2 separate regions of the Homo sapiens genome follow, and region 2 is linked to region 1. The links are contacts of gene promoters, found by promoter capture Hi-C in blood cells and fetal thymus (Javierre and others, 2016). All regions are on one chromosome and are shown on one strand. Each heading gives the region's core, a stretch centred on a gene start or on the middle of the fragment in contact. The rest is flanking DNA. Distances are from core to core; before and after follow the strand shown.

Region 1 (5,809 bases), core at 1,743-4,242:
GTATAGCATTACCATTGGTCTGAAGAGAAAAACTTATTCCCATCTTATTAATGGGATCGAAATTTTCATTTTCTTTTTTTTTTTTTTTTTTTTTTGAGACAGAGTCTCGCTCTGTCGCCCAGGCTAGAGTACAGTGGCGCAATCTCAGCTCGCTGCAAGCTCCGCCTCCCAGGTTCACGCCATTCTCCTGCCTCAGCCTCCCGAGTAGCTGGGACTACAGGCGCCCGCCACCTCGACCGGCTAATTTTTTGTATTTTTTTAGTAGAGACCGGGTTTCGCCATGTTCACCAGGATGGTCTTGATCTCCTGACCTCGTGATCCGCCCCCTCAGCCTCCCAAAGTACTGGGATTACAGGCCTGAGCCACCATGCCCGGCCGAAATTTTCATTTTCATTTCCAAACCAAAATCCCTGGAAAATCTTGCTTTGCCTGAGTACAAGAAGCCTAAATTTCCTGTCCTTTAGCCAATATAAGGTTAACAGTTAAGCATAATAATTGTCACACACAAAAAATAGAAAGCAGATGCAAGTTATTAGAGATAAAAAGGTAAAATTAAAACAAAGTTATAATTACTTTATAAAGTTTTTAATGAGGGAAATCAGAAGACAATTTTGTAACACGGTAAAACTACACCTTGAAATATAGAGTCCTTTTTCAAACAGTGCATTCCACATTAGATAAAAAATGGAACTGGAGAACAAAAACAAAACAAAAAGACGATGATGAAAAACTTAGGCAGGGCTGGGTGTTGGAGCTTACACCTGTATTCCCAACACTTTCGGAGCCTGAGGTGGGTAGATCACTTGAGCCCAGGAGTTCAAGACCAGCCTGGGCAACATGGCAAGGCCCATCTCTAAAAAATTTAATTAATTAATTAATTGAAAAATTTTTTAAAATGTAGGCAGGCAAAAAGCCTCAGGCCAATCCTAAACCTACAAAACATCAAAATCTTATGGTCAACTTTTATTATAAGGACACTCCTTTATTAGTTTGGAGGTTATGGTTTAATCAAACTGTAGATATATGCATATTCCTAATACCTGTATATCAGATTTCACTGGGTAACCAAAACAGCAAACTCTGAAAATGGTTATCTGAACGTTAATTTGTAAAAATAAGGGCCGGGAGCAGTGTGGCTCACGCCTGTAATCCCAGCACTTTGGGAGGCCGAGGAGGGTGGATCACGAGGTCAGGAGATCAAGACCATCCTGACTAACACGGCGAAACCCTGTCTCTACTAAAAATACAAAAATATTAGCCAGGCGTGGTGGCCGGCGCCTGTAGTCCCAGCTACTCGGGAGGCTGAGGCAGGAGAATGGCGTGAACCTGGGAGGCGGAGCTTGCAATGAGCCGAGATCGCGCCACTGCACTCCAGCCTGGGCGACAGAGCGAGACTCCGTCTCAAAAAAAAAAAAAAATTAATTAATTTTAAAAAAAATAAGGAACTTAATAGAACAGAGAGAGAGAAAAGCCCAACAAAATTTCAGCAAGGAAAAATACTGCCTACTAAGCTAGTGTTAGAACCTGTGCAATGTGAGTATTAAAAAAGAGGGAAAAGTCTGCCTATACTTGACAGTAGCTTCTAAGTTGATGCCAAAATGGCCAAAAATATCTCACTAAAATAATTCCTTCACCAAACATCAAAAGGCAAAGGTAGCACTCACAGGATATTAGTTCTAGCTCCAAGTCTTTCACAATGCATACAGTTCTACTTTCAAAGGGCCTTCCTAAGATACTTACATGTCAGTGGCACTACGACTGGGTTTATTAAGAGAACAGCCTTTACTTATCCTTTAAAGTATTCCTGGAGAAAGGACACCAACCAAGCAATTCAAGTCTGTAGGGGAGGGGAATCCGCAAATATGAATAGGTAATTTATTAAGCTTGTGAATTCATTGCAGAGATACTCTGGAATATATAGTCTTATCTGTCTCCTTGTTATCTTCTTACCCTCCAAAGATTCCAATTAGGCAAAGTCTCAAATGTTTACTCCTCTTTGAAAAGGACCTCAGTACCCCATTGTCATTGCCCTCGCCATCTCATCATTCTGCTTTTTTACTCTTCCCTTAATACAATATAAATACACCACGCCCATAACACCACACGCTCCACGCTCACACTCCATACATCTCTCCCCACAGAACCACCCAAAACATCCCATACTTAATGGTCCAACACCAATTAAAACAAAAACTCTACACGTCCCCCCATATAATACAGGAAACACTACACATTCCACACACATTGTAACCCAAGTCATTAATACCTCCAATCCCATTCAACCCGTACTTAACACATTCTACACACTCATGATAGCATATAAATTATACGCTTCTCCATAGCTCGCCACACACACACACACACGCCACGCACCGTATAAAAGCCTAAATGACACACCACTGCAGCGTTCAAACGCTGGGAAGAAGACTCCCTTGTGGCACCGGAAACCCACGAGGTTGGAAGTGGGAGGGGAAGAGGGCCAGATACTTCACCTGAAAATCCGCCAGGATCATCTCCCGGTCCATGTTGGACGCCATGGCGGCCGCCGAGTTCCGCGGCTCCGGGAGCGAAGCGCGCACCTGGGAGGCAGACGGCACCTCCTGCGACCGTCGCCGCCACCGCCGCCGCCGCCGCCGGGCGCCGAGGGGCTGGCGGGCGAGCCGGCGGGCGGGTCGGCGGGCCAGCGGGCGGGGCAGCGCGGGAAGCGCTAGGCGCTCATGCACTCGGTAACCTTCAGGCGCCCCGGCCGCCCGCCTGCAACCTGCGGAGCCCGCGTCGCAGCAGCCCGGACAGGAAGATTGGTCTGGATGTGGGTCCGGTCTTACAGTCGCGGGCCAGGATGAGGGCAGGTTGCGACAGCGCGCACCCGGATACCTTCAGCGGCGTTAAGCCCGGCGGGGGCGGGGAAACCGAGCGAGCGAGCGGGCGGGCGAACGCCGCGGCCGCCTCCGCCTCCTCCGCTTCCTCCCTGGCCGCCGCCTCCGCCCCTGGTTGGCCAGCGCCACGGCTGTCGCACATTTTGCCTGTCATCGAGGTCGCAAAGCGCCGCTTTGCGGCTCCACGTGACCACCCTCCTGTCAAGCGCTGAGCGCGCGACTACCCGGCCAGGATCTCTGCGCTGGCGGCAGAGACTGCAACCTGCAGCTGCGGAAGCTTCAAGTCTCGCAACAGGTTATTCCAGTTTGGATTTAAGCAAAGGCCTCAGGATAGCGCCTCCCCCTAGCTGAGGCGGGGACCAGATTGTGCACCTCACGTGGTTAGTCACACAAATACACACCACCCTCACAAACCAACTAAACACACTGTTACAACTCGTCTAACAAACAGCATTTCAGAAATATATGTTTTTCTCTACAATGTTTCAGCAAAATACAGCTTCATATAGTCTCTCACGCTCAACCTGTCAAAACCGAATCCACACTGTCACACCCAGTCCCAAGCTCCCTGACGTCTGCATCCTCAGACTCCGTAACACAGAAGTAACCAGACTGCCATGGTAGACATGGGAGAGACGAGGAAGCTGAGAAAGGTAAAAATCTCGTTCCAGAGAAGAGGAGGAGCATTTTTTTTAATTGATAAGGTAGTTATGAGAAATAACAACCTCGAGTTAATAGGGTTGCTCCAAAGGGGGAAAAAAGGGAAAACCTTTCTACTGCTGCAGTTATATTTGTTTTTTTAAGCTGAGACATCTTACAAATGGGATAAAACTTGAATCCAGCTTTGAATATAGTCAGTCTATTTTTATTTATTTATTTATTTATTTATTTATTTATTATTTTGAGACGGAGTCTCGCACTGTGGCCCGGGCTGGAGTGCAGTGGCGCGATCTCGGCTCGCTGCGACCTCCGCTTTCTGGGTTCAAGCGATTCTCCTGCCTCAGCCTCCATAGTAGCTGGGATTACAGGCTCCCGCCACCAAGCCCGGCTAAGTTTTTTTTGTATTTTTAGTAGAGACGGGGTTTCACTATGTTGGGCAAGCTGATCTCGAACTCCTGTCCTCGTGATCCGCCCTCCTCGGCCTCCCAAAGTGTTGGGATTACAGGCGTGAGCCACTGCACCCGGCCTATTCATTTTCATAAGAAATTATTTTGGAATATTCACCAAATATTGAAAGTTTCAACCCATGGTCAGAAATTGACAACCTCTGTAACTAAAACAGCCAAAGACTATGTACAATGAAGTGTGACAGTTTGTAATTGTCGTCCAGGTTAGAGAAAGTGTGACAGTGGAAGTTGTTCATCCTTGACTTGGGAAAATATCAGCTTCTGGATTGTCATGGGGCATTTACTTGCTTTGGAAAGTATGTAAAAGCTTGAAAATGTGAAGTAAGATTGCTGATTTTATCCTGTAGAGCTAAAATAACTAGTGAAATCATCATGTAGCATGAAGGCCTAGGCTTCCCTTAAGAACTTTTTAAACTTGTATCATTTATTTACTTTTTTAGAGACAGGGCCTCACTATGTTGCCCAGGCTGGCTTCCAACTCCTGTGCTCAAGCCATCCTCCCACCTCAGCCTCCTGAGAGTGGGGATTACAGGTGTGAGCCATACCACCACACCCAGCAAGGCCTAGGCTCCATAAACTGGGAATATATTCATGAGAAATCAGAAATATGACCTAATTGTTCAGTTTCACTGAATATAAAGAAGTGCACTGTATTATGATCTGAGTTTATTCTGTGTGTTTCCTTAAATGAAAATAGGCTGGCCTACAGTTCTTAAGTACTAATCTGTGTTTAGACCAGAATTAGCTAGATAATAGAACCCTCCACAGTCACATGAATCAAAATGTCTTGCTTAATTTTCAGCCGTAAGAAAATAATTCCATGGCCAGGGCAGTGGCTTATGCCTATAATCCCAACACTTTGGGAGGCCGAGGCAGGCAGATCACTTGAGGTCAGGAGTTCAAGACCAGCCTGGCCAACATAGTGAAATCCCATCTCTGCTAAAAATAATACAAAAATTAGCTGGGCATGGTGGCATATGCCTGTAGTCCCAGCTACTAGGGAGGCTGAGGGAGGAGAATCACCTGAACCTGGGAGGTGGAGGTTGCAGTGTGAACCAAGATCACACTACTGCACCCCAGCCTGGGTGACAGAGTAAAACTGTTTCAAAATAAATAAATAAATATTTTTTTAAAAAGAAAGTAATTCCAAAAGTCAGCACAAATGTGAATCATGAGGCAAAACACAGCACCAATAATATAAATGTGGCAATTCAGTTGCCCCATTCATATAGGCCACCCTCAGTATAAGGCAGGTGAATAATTGTTTCTAGTTATATGGCCAAGGATTAATGCAGTCCTAAAAAGTTGAGAGTTTTTCTCTGTAATGATGCGTGTGTACCTCAGAACCCATTCAAATCCCATGTTGCTCCCTTTTTCTTTCCTTTCTCTCCATCTGGAAATTAAAACAATGTGGTATGTAGAACAATGGGATGAACACACTAGACATTCAGGCATATATTAGTACTGCTTTTCCAAATAATTAGCTGAGGGAACTTGGATGAGTCATTTAATCTCTCTGACTTCAGCTACTCACAGGACTATTTCCTCTGATAAATGAAAAAACAATTATGAAAATGCATGGAAAATATAAAATATTGGTATCACACTAACATAAATTTAATAGTCAATAATTGTGGTTTGAGTTCTAACTCTGCTCTTTAACAAAGGCTCTCTGGTTCTATTTCTTTATCTCTAAAATTGGGCTAAAAAGCTTGTGATTTTGAATGTTGAATGATCAAATGCTTGTGAAAATTCCTCATAAACCTTAAAACTCTCCAAACATATTAGTTATTACTCTGTATACCA
Region 2 (5,256 bases), core at 306-2,805, 310 kb after region 1:
CATCTTCTGAGATAGTAGTGTTTTTCAGACTGCTCTGTTGATTCTGAGGATTCTGCAAAGGTAACCAAGGTGAGGGCTTGGGGATGGGGAGCCTCATCCCTTCTAGGCCACACTCCATCCCAGCTTCATTCCATCAGAGTTGCTCAGTTTTAAATATTATTATAGGCCAGGCACCATGGCTCAACCCTGTGGCCCCACTACTCAGGAGGCTGAGGTTGGAGGATTGCTTGAGCCCAGGGGGTTGAGTTTACAGTAAGTTGTGTTTGTGCCACTGCACTTAAGCCTGGGCAACAGAGGGAGACCCTATCTCAAAAAAAGGTGGGGGTTATACACACGATTCCTTTGAATTGTTTTGTTGTGTAAAAAATCAGTTGGATTAGGAGCAGCAGAATTCTAATTTCAGTATTGTCAATTAGTGACTGTAGGCAAGCTTGGTCCTATGAAATGGGAAAGTTAGTCTTAGATAACTTTTAGATTTATTTTTGCCATAGTCCAGTCCATTTAAAAAGTTTTAAAAATTATTTTTAGAGATGAGGTCTTGCTATGTTGTCCAGGCTGGTCTCTTATCATGTGGAAATAGTTCATTTAACATTCCATGCCAGTTCAGTGAAGTCTGTGTTTATATCCTTTAGGCAGAATGAGAATGTTTTGGTGTGTGTATGTTTTATTCTAGTAGCTGAAGTTAAGGCAGGGTGAAACACAGTCATACAGCCAAACACTAGCCCAGCTTCCTACCCCTCCCAGGGCTCCCTTTCCCTTCTATCTCTGACCAAAAAATAAGCCCTCGAAAGGTTTTTAAAAAATAATCTTTTTCCTCTATATTTTAATATTTTAGGAACAAGTTCCAGTTCCAGTCTACCACCCAACACCTAGCCAGACTCGGCTAGCAACTCAGCTGACTGAAGAGGAACAAATTAGGATAGCTCAAAGAATAGGTCTTATACAACATCTGCCTAAAGGAGTTTATGACCCTGGAAGAGATGGATCAGAAAAAAAGATCCGGGAGTAAGTTTTAATTAATTTGTACATTTCAAAGTTTTATTTTCAGATTGCTTTTGAAAAATTTGCCTTTTCTCCTGCACTTTAGAAAGTCAGACATTTAATATATTGAAACACTTCGCTTAATGCAAGAGAATGTTTAATTTTTTTTCATAGCTCTATTACTGGCTACTAGCAAGAGAATGTTATGTAGTAATTAAGAATTTTCACAGGCCGAGCACAGTGGCTTATGCCTGTAATCCCAGCACTTTGGGAGGCTGAGGTCGGGGGATCACTTGAGGCCAGGAGTTCGAGACCAACCTGGCCAACATGGTGAAACCTCATCTCTACTGAAAATACGAAAATTAGCCAGGCATGGTGGCACGCGCCTGTAATCCCAACCACTTGGGAGGCTGAGGTGGGAGAATCACTTGAAACTCTGTCTCAAAAAGTAAAATAAAGTAAAATAAGAGAAAGTTAGTGTTAATGAAGAGAGCTTTAACTTACAGCAACCCAGTAAGTAGGCTGAAGTTAGTGTTTCTGTTTTTACAGTTATTAAAATGAAAATTATCTTACTCTAGGATTACTCTAAATAGCACAAGGAAACAAAGTTGCCCGAAGTTAGTGTTTCTGTTTTACAGTTACTAAAATGAAAATTGTCTTAGTCCAGGATTACACTAAATAGTGCAAGAAAACAAAGTTGATCTAACTGATGCTTTTCTACCTAAAATAATCCCATTCTCCTTCAGGTATCTGCTATAATATGTAGCTGTTTACAAGCACAGCAGTAGATTTGATGCATATGTAATCCATTTCTCTTTGCTCTGTTGATTGCTCCTAAGTCCTGCAAATTCTCAGGGGATTGAAATAAGAGACTGTGGACAGATCAACATTAGGAAAAAATTCAGTTTGCATGCTTTGGCAATAAGATGACAGGCAAAGCATTCTGATGTGTTACTCAGATTAACACTGTCTTTAATGGGATTTAAAGAGTTTTCTGAATAGGACACTTCTGAAAATGCCTTCTGATTTCTCTCCATTGCTCTCAACAGGTGTGTGATCTGTATGATGGACTTTGTTTATGGGGACCCAATTCGATTTCTGCCGTGCATGCACATCTATCACCTGGACTGTATAGATGACTGGTTGATGAGATCCTTCACGTGCCCCTCCTGCATGGAGCCAGTTGATGCAGCACTGCTTTCATCCTATGAGACTAATTGAGCCAGGGTCTCTTATCTGACTTCAAGTGAACCACCATTTTGGTGGTTTTGATCTTTTGTCACTGAGCCCAAAGAGCCAGGGATTAGGAATTAAGATCGTGCACAAAAGTTTCCTTAAAATTCCTGGATGGCTGCAGATGTTGGGGGAAAAAGTACGTGATATTTTAGAAACTTAGTGGGAAAAGTAGGATGGTATTTTTATGTAAAGCCTTGACCCAATGTTTAAAAATATAATTGTATTTAGATCTTGTTATTGCTCCAGTACATAGGAATTGTGTAAAGTGTTAACAGCAGCTGTATTTGTTTAAATTGTGTGTATTGAAGATTAGGAAAAAGATAGTAGTTATTTTTCCTAAATGAAATAACTTTCTTCTCTTCCCCTTCCCCACCCGAATTCTTTTCTGAAGTTGCTGGCATTTGGGTCAAGGTTTTATTAAAAGCTACATTTTATAACACTGGCACACACAAAAAAGTAGTTTTAAGCTTGTTTGCACAGTTCTTTTTTTCCATTGGAAATGGAATTCATTGCCTTAGGTCTTTTTAAATAGTGTATTATTATCGTTGGGGCTGGCTCTATGCTTGAAAACCAGTTTATTTATAACCTGTTATAAGTGCTATATTCTGTTTGCAGTTAGGAAATGCAGAATTCAAAGTGATCTCCTAGCTTGTAAGCAAACTGAGATGCACTATCCCTTTTCTATAAAAAATAAGTTAATGTGTCAAGAAACCAACTCTATTAAGGTGGGGTTTAATATTACCCTTTCCTATGTGTTTTATCTAATTATTTTGGTTGTTAATATGGTGATAATGGAAAGTCAAGTTAAATTTTAAATATTAAGAATTCTGATTTATTGAGATTGAATTATGCCACCACGTTTATGTAAAAATGAAGGTGGCACCGTGGTGAGACCTAATGAGAAATAGTTACTCAGTTGTAAAAATTTTGATTTATTCTCTTTCTTCTGACCTCCTTGCCTCTTGTCTTGAACCATAGCAAAAGGATACTGCATCTCTCATTACTGTAGTGCTGAGGTTATTGAAGTTATACAAAACACATCTCAGTCTCTGTTTCTTGGAAAGGTATCTATTACATCCTGCTAGCTGACTGACAAAACTAAGCAGGGAGAATAAAGATAATTGTATTTTATGTTTTGCACACAAACGCAGAATTTGTATAACCATATGACTTCATAGTTGTGATCTCAAAAAAGAAGGAATTTCTCCTTTGTTTCTTGCAGTTAATGTAAGAATACTTTAAATCTCTAAGCTTCTGAAGTGTTAGAGGTAGAGATGGTCTAGTAAAGATGTAGTAGTAATGTTTTATCCATTTAGCATGTGTTTATTTTTTCATATGTACTCAAAGGTGACTTATTGGTTCACCTCAGTGATATTACAGCTAAAAAAATCATTCATTAGCAAAAGGAAAAGTGGTCTCAACCTAACATCAGAAGTGTTTCTTATTATTATTTTATATTGAGTTGAATATTGAACTCTAACAGTTTTCTACATACAAAACACAGTGTCATGAAGGTTATTCATAATTGCATTATAGAGGAATGTAGTATGTCATAAGTACTTTGTAAAGATTTGACATTCAACTGTAGTATCCATATGTTGCTTAAATTTCCTTATGAGCCCCATGATGGAAAGACTTAAAGATGAATTTGAGAAAAATTGAAAGAAATTAGATTATCAGGTTCTGTTAAATTGTTACATGTATCTTGCTTAAATTTCTGTTTATTAATTTATATCCACCCAAGTACATAAAGCAAATTTGGAGGAAACAACTGAAGTTGTGCAATATTTTCTGATAATTGCTTTTTTTATTCTTGTGTTTTCTACTTAAACATAATGTCTGTGTCATCAAGTATTATAGTCAGACTTTTCTTTTTTTCTAGATTGTTAAAATTGGCAAATGAACTTTTTTAAAAATCATCTTCCATGTTGCAGTTAGTCTTTCTTTTCATTACAAGTCTTTCACAGAAGTTTGGTGGTAATATTGAAAGAACTAGCATTGGGCAGAATGTGTCTTTTTTAGGCACTTTATATTCTCAACATACAATGTTAAGAACCATCAATTTTGACTTTTACTAAGTTGTTAAATAAAGTTATAATACAGCTGTGAAGGGCTAAAGTTAGAGTTGATTACATAAGTAAGTATTCCCCATATAATCTTTTAAAAAGTTGTGTATGATTATTTTAAAATCTCTCTCTCTATATATACCTGTGGGAAGTATTTTTTATTGTTTGGCATTTAATATCATTTAATCATATACTTAGGCTTGATAGCACCAAAGTTTCTAAAACCAAACAATAGCTATAATCTCTTGATTTAGATATGGGCAAGATATGTCCAAGCTTGGCTGTGGGATTTGAAATTTCTAAAAAGCCTAACCAGGAAGAAACAAAAGAATCTTATCCTTTTGAGTGTAAAACCTAACAAGTTGAAATACTTTCAGATATTTGTAGTTTACCTAACACAAACTTAAAAAATTCTGTGAGTTTCTTGATAGGGAATCTCCTCAGTCGGTACTAGAAGACTCGCCCCCTGCTATTGGTGTTTATCATGTGATATAAAACAGTATGATTTCATGCAATAGTAAGCATTGAGATAACAGATCCCCTGCATACAAATCTTCATAAAGAAGCATTCATTTTTAAAAAGGAGCAACACTTAATAAAGTACAGTAATCCCCCTTATCCACGGTTTCTGCCATTTCACATACCCACACACTATGGTGCAAAAAGGTATTTTGAGAGTGAGATACCACAGTTACATAATTTTTTTTTTTTTGAGATGGAGTTTCGCTCTTGTTGCCCAGGCTGGAGTGCAATGGCGCAATCTCGGCTCACTGCAACCTCTGTCTCCTGGGTTCAAGCAATTATCCCGCCTCAGCCTCCCGAGTAGCTGGGATTACAGGCGTGTGCCACCATGCCCGGCTAATTTTGTATTTTTAGTAGAGACGGGGTTTCTCCGTGTTGGTCAGGCTGGTCTTGAACTCCTGACCTCACGTGATCCACCTGTCTCGGCCTCCCAAAGTGCTGGGATTATAGG

Evidence for each region. The method cuts DNA at HindIII sites, captures the fragments that hold promoters and counts their contacts. A CHiCAGO score of 5 or more calls a contact.
Region 2: a fragment that was not itself captured here is called in contact with the fragment with the promoter of FAF1 in region 1 in 1 of 17 cell types (monocytes); the score reaches 6.5 in monocytes.

Annotation. Positions count from the first base shown.
Region 1 is chr1:50,957,275-50,963,083 of GRCh38, forward strand. It overlaps FAF1 (Fas associated factor 1), which reads right to left and starts at 2,993. Exons shown (of 19, transcript NM_007051.3): 1 at 2,493-2,993. The coding sequence starts at 2,537. It also overlaps a transcript of CDKN2C not described here. RefSeq lists an enhancer at 2,280-2,329 and silencers at 2,640-2,689, 2,800-2,959. The HindIII fragment of the contact is 1,270 bases long and covers 1,882-3,151 here.
Region 2 is chr1:51,269,121-51,274,376 of GRCh38, forward strand. RNF11 (ring finger protein 11) reads left to right here. Exons shown (of 3, transcript NM_014372.5): 2 at 836-1,005; 3 at 2,031-4,327. The coding sequence ends at 2,202. Among named protein-coding and RNA genes, the nearest start is that of RNF11, 35 kb to the left of the region's middle. The HindIII fragment of the contact is 2,254 bases long and covers 429-2,682 here.